2 separate regions of the Homo sapiens genome follow, and region 2 is linked to region 1. Evidence: promoter capture Hi-C in 16 types of primary human blood cells and fetal thymus (Javierre and others, 2016). All regions are on one chromosome and are shown on one strand. Each heading gives the region's core, a stretch centred on a gene start or on the middle of the fragment in contact. The rest is flanking DNA. Distances are from core to core; before and after follow the strand shown.

What was found. The method cuts DNA at HindIII sites, captures the fragments that hold promoters and counts their contacts. A CHiCAGO score of 5 or more calls a contact.
Region 2: a contact is called between the fragment with the promoter of CHST6 here and a fragment that was not itself captured in region 1, in 1 of 17 cell types (total CD8 T cells). The highest score is 5.1, in total CD8 T cells.

The regions. Positions count from the first base shown.
Region 1 is chr16:77,168,895-77,171,964 of GRCh38, forward strand. No RefSeq gene overlaps it. Among named protein-coding and RNA genes, the nearest start is that of MON1B, 21 kb to the right of the region's middle. The HindIII fragment of the contact is 2,338 bases long and covers 457-2,794 here.
Region 2 is chr16:75,494,171-75,496,884 of GRCh38, forward strand. It overlaps CHST6 (carbohydrate sulfotransferase 6), which reads right to left and starts at 1,271. Exons shown (of 3, transcript NM_021615.5): 1 at 770-1,271. RefSeq lists an enhancer at 665-844 and a silencer at 1,145-1,474. The HindIII fragment of the contact is 1,836 bases long and covers 775-2,610 here.

The sequences.
Region 1 (3,070 bases), core at 376-2,875:
GAAGTAAGGAGTTGTTCTTACCTCACAGGACTGTGTAAGTAGAAAATTAAACTATGTAAAACACCTTGCACTGTATAGCATTGAACGCATACTGTATGTGGGTGTGGCCCATTGAAGAAATTATTGCCAGCCACAAAGTTATGAACATATTCTCCTAAATCCTGTCTAGCATCGCGATTGTTTTCTCTCTCACAGTGAGAAACCCATCTGGAAAATCCATTTACAACCCATCTGGAATTGATTTTTGTTTATGGTATGGGAAAGGGAGTTTATAATAATTAATGATATTTATAAGACAAAACCAGCAAAATACTCAAGACCACCTAATTGTTCAGTAGACTCTTTTTGATTCATGAGACACTCACGACCTTGTCCCTCCAAAATTACCAGGTTGCCACAGCACTCTGTCTTCCTTCCTTCCTCCTGCCTATGTCAAATTCTCTTTCCCACTCTTCAAGCTTCCTATATAAGCAGACACATCCAGCCAGCAAAAGAGATTGCCTATCTGTCCTTCTGAAGCACTCATCCATCATAAAAGATGGTCCTGGAAAATCTCTAAAAGGTTGAAGTATGGGCTTTTCACAGTGGGAAGAGCCACATCACACCCTGATCCTTCTTTCTAATCTTCTGTTCATATAGGCTTGGCAGGAAATAAGAATTGGATGATGATTGAGGCAGCACAGAGAACTTGGAGACTTCTCTAGGGGTCTAGGGTTTGACCCTAGTCGTTTGGTCTCTGATACCTGCTTCTGGGTTCCGTTTATCAATTACCAGGACACCAGACAAGTGTCACAGGTCAACCTCCCATCATGCTTGGGTGGGCATACAAGGAAGAAAGGGCAGTAAAAACACGTAGCTGAGGCCAAATATATATGGTGACCACTTGTCAGTTTCACCAGCAGATTTACCTGCTCACAGGCTTAGAGAAAGGAGGAGTGCTAGCGCCCCCTGCAGTACAGAATCAAGAATCCCTAGTACCCAGGAGAGCATCAGTGATTCAGACTGAGGGCACATCGGGTAGGAGGCTCTCAGCACCCCTAAAAATTGCAAAACTAAAAAACTTCTCGCAGCTGAGAAGCTGGAGATAATGTTCATTTAAAAAAAACTGAGTAATCTCTGTTGTCAAAGAGCTATGTGACACCTGAAAAAATAGTATGCCAATATTTGGGGAGGAAAAAAAATAAAGCAAAACAGGAATTAAAAGAAAAAGAACACTTCTATCTCAAAAGACACAGCTTTTCCCAATTTTGAAAATGTGAATTACAGCCAACGTATTAAGTCCCTTGAAATTAGCAGGTTATAAAGAGCTGATACAGCCTTATCTAAAGAAAGCAAGAACAGCCCCATTACAACAGAAAAACAAAACAAAAAACTTCTAAATCATGCATGGCCTGAGATAAAGAAAAATTAAGGTCTTTGCATAACATTGCCCCAGAACTAAGCCTAGCAATATATTTTCCTGAGGAACCTGGAATGGGGGCCAAGTCAGATTTTCTTGTGTGGCAGAATACCTAATGGGAATTTTTAGAGCTGTGGATGGCTGGGAATTTTTAGAGCTGTGGATGGCCAGGAATTTTACTAAGAAGCAGGAAAAGTTGTGGGCAAAGAAACAAGAATAATGATGCATGGAGAGAAGTATAGGCAGGGGTTGGGTGTCAGAGAAAAAGAGTTTTCAGAATCTTTCTTTCCAGTTTCTGCTTCCATTTTTCCTGGAGTTCAGCCATTTTCCATCATGCCCGCCATGACTTAACTTTAACTGATTTCATAGCCACTTTTTCAACGAGATGACTGGGATTGGTTTCTCCTACTTTCAACCAAGAATCCTGACCACCATAGTGGGTTTTAGGAGATGGGCCAGTGAGTGGGGAGGCTGTTCTCTGGGCACAGGACCCTGACACAGACATCCCAGCACTGACAAAGCTCATTCCTCCCCAGGGATGCTGAGCTGCTGCAGGAAGCTCTTGAACATCAAGTTATGCCAGCAGAAAAAGACATCAGATTGGAAGAATGTGGGTGATGTTTTGCCTGTGGAGGGGGTGGAGGATAGCCTTGGATCCCTTGAAGCCCCTAGGACATGGGTTTAGCCACCCCATGGCACTACAGAGGGTCACGTGATCTGGAGCTAGCAGGATAGTGCTGGTTTAGAATATTCTGCTGACATCGTCCTAGCTATCGTCACAGTGTTTCCTTAAGCATTAATTTATGGTCACAGTTACTGTAACACAGCTAAAATTTTTTACCATATCTACTCTTTCTAATGGTCTAATAATGAGAAGGTTTTTAGCACACGTGTCACAGGGTCAAGAGAGCAATTACTTTTCATCTGAATTCATAAAACCCTTATTATACTAACACAAAGCACCATATTTTTAATTCCATGTAGTATAAATAAATAAAAAGAAAATAGCCACGAGCATTTTTCTAACCATATGACCTTGAGCAAGTTACGTGAACTCTGTGGAGATCTGTGTACTTTTCTGTAAAACAGATTTACTGAGCATTGCATCATATAATTATTGTGATGATTAAATAAATTTATTCTATAAAGTGCTTAGCACAGTGCCTGGCACATGGTAAAGTGCTGAGTAAATATCAGCTCTTTTTATTACTGGAAGTACCTGGCTTTCCCCATTGACTTGATTTCAGAGGCAGATGAATTCTCCCTTATCCAAAATTATTTCATACACCACTCTGGCCACCAGAGATTCATTCACACTTTGAGTTGTCAAATAATTTCTATTGTTATGCAGAAAATCCTAGTAGAAACCATAAAATGCTACTTAATAGTCATTCAAGCTTTTTATAAAATAGTTTTCAAAGTAAATTGTTTCCTTTATGGGTTTTAATGACGAGAAGGATGAGATTAACCACAGGACTCTGGAGAGAGGTACAGATTTGGGGGATTTACATGGGGGTGGACTGATATCACAATGATCCCTAATTTTCTATATTCACCAGGCAGATGAGCTGGTCTCAGAAATACTCAAGTCTCAAAATCTTTGGAACATATGCTTCCATATCAGGTACATGGGTTTTTTCTGCCATCTAGTGGCCACCTTTGATAAAGACA
Region 2 (2,714 bases), core at 21-2,520, 1.7 Mb before region 1:
TTGGGTTCAAATCCTGTCTCTACTACCAGTGAGGGGTGTGACTTAGAGCAAGTCACTCTCTGGCTCTCTATACTCCAGTTGACTCTGTTTGTAGAACAAAGCCAGAAAAGTTCCGGCCTCTCAGGCTGGAGAGGAGCCCAGCCCCAGCTCCCGGAGCAGCATAGCACCCTCAGAGGCCCTGGTACTTGGCCTACTCGCTTGTGGGTTTAAGTCAGCCAACTCCTTTCTGCTCTTCAGGCCTCAGTTTTCCCATCCTCAAAAATGGGAAACTTGACTGCCTTGCCTCTGTGAAAAAGGGAGGAGAAAGGAAAGTCAACATTTGCTAGGCACCTGTCCTGAGGCCCAGAGGGCCTGTCCTGAAGCCCAAGATGAAGCCGTCAGAAGCAGTGACGCAGGACTCCAATTCCCCTGGGTCTGGTTCCAAATCAACCCGCCAAGCTACCGTCTCTCAATAATTCTATGGAAAAAGCCCTTGGAGAGCTTTTGAAAGTCATGTCCTTTGAAACTCAAGTATCGAGACAAAAGGGGTTCTCCCCTCGCAGTGAGGATTCTCCTGCGCAGCCGAAGCCCCAGCAAGACACTTCCAAACCGGCGCCAACAGCGGCGATGCCCTTTCCACGTTGCTGATGGAAAAGCCACTCCCAGCTCTTCCCGCCACCCCAGGTCCCCGGTGCAGGACAGAGGAGCGTCCCCAGCTGTGCCACCAGCCCGGCCCCCAGCCGACCCGAGTGTGGGGACATCCCCCGCGGAGAATGAAGAACCAACGTACCCCAAAGCTTGGCGGCTCTGCCCGAGCTGCAGCGGCACGGTGGGGGACGCCTCTCTCCCTGGACTCAGCAAAGGCTCCCAAACGTCGTCTCTTCCAAATTCCACCGCACAGCCAGCTCTTTCTCTTCACTGGGAGGGTCCGCAGGGGCTGACTTGCTCCTTAAGGTCCCAAGACTATTAAGCGACACCCGGTGAGGCCGGGAAAGGGGCTCTAAGAGGCATGGACGAGAGTTGGCGGTGACCAAGCCACTGGAAGCTCCTGGAGACTCGAGGTAGAACGAATGTGGGAACAGGGCAGGAGTCCCAGAATGGGATGTTGAGGCTGGGGGTGTCCTGGGGCTACCACAGGGAAGGACCCGGCGCAGAGCTCCCTCTGGAACCCGGCACTGCGGCCCGCGCCCTCTACTCCCCGCGCGCCGGCCGGCAACCCTCGGCGCTGCCCGGTGCAGCCCGCCCGAGCGCACACAATGAGGCGCTTTCAGACGTGGCTGCGGTCCCGAGGTGGCCAGCGGGAGCTAGCGCCGTGGGGGAAGGAAGGAGCCGGTTGGCCCACCCCCGACCGAGGGGCCACGCCTCGGGGGAGGGGCGCCGGCCGAGGGCGGGGCAGGAGGGCCCAGGTGGGCTGGGGCTCTGAGAGGCTCAACTTTTAGCCCAGAATGTCAAAGGGCGCTGGCAGAGTCACCTCTCATCTGACTACAGAGGAACGTTGTACCCCACCCCACCCCAAATCCCCAGAGAAGGGGGGCTCCTGGGAGGACAAAGGCCCTAGTGAAGGAAGTCGAATCTTAATCTTGACCCTCCTCACTCTCGGGGGCATCCTTGCGGCGAGGTGACTTGGAATCCAAACCCTTCCCAAGGCCACGGCACCTGGATGACACATGGACCCGGTGCAGTGTCCCAACTGGGAAGAGCGGAGAGACCAGGTGGCCTTAGGAGCTGGGTCCGCAGCTTTTCCCCTCCTCCTGCGCATTCCCTGCCCTAGCCTAGGCCCAGAGGCGCAGGTTCATAGCAGGTCCAGATAAAGACATGATACGTTTCAATAAATAAGATATTTCCGGCCAGGGCTGGGCGCGGTGGCTCACGCCTGTAATCCCAGCACTTTGGGAGGCCGAGGCGGGCGGATCACGAGGTCAGGAGATCGAAATCATCCTGGCTAACACAGTGAAACCCCGTCTCTACTAAAAATACAAAAAAATTAGCCAGGCCTGGTGGCGGGCACCTGTAGTCCCAGCTACTCGGGAGGCTGAGGCAGGAGAATGGCGTGAACCCGGGAGGCGGAGCTTGCAGTGAGCCGAGATCGCACCACTGCACTCCAGCCTGGGCGACAAAGCGAGACTCCCTCGCAAAAAAAAAAAAAAAAAATCCGGCCAGGCGCGGTGTCTCACGCCTGTAATCCCAGCACTTTGGGGGGCCGTAGTGGGTGGATCACGAGGTCAGGAGTTCGAGACCAGCCTGGCCAACAGGGTGAAACCCCGTCTCTACTAAAAATACAAAAATTAGCCGGGCGTGGTGGCAGGCACCTGTAATCCTAGCTACTCAGGAGGCTAAGGCAGGAGAACTGCTTGAGCCCAGGAAGCGGAGGTTGCAGTGAGCTGAGATTGCACCACTGCACTCCAGCCTGGGCGACAGAGCGAAACTGTTTCAAAAAAAAAAAAAAAAAAAATCCCCTTTACAAATAACAGGGCAGAGCCCAGGCACCTGAAAAGGATGAAGCATTTCTAGGTCTTGTCAAATTAGTGATGGGATCTTAATCAAGAACTCCCTGCTGCTGGGAGAAGAAATAAGCAGTCCTTCCTGGTTGTGGTTTGGCAAGATGAATTAAGATTCTTGACAATGGTCGTAAGCTTTTCGGATTGGTAATTCCTTTCTAGGAGCTATCTTAAGGAAATAAACCAGAAACAAGGATTTATGTACAGGGTTCATATAAGTGTTGTTCATGATTTTGA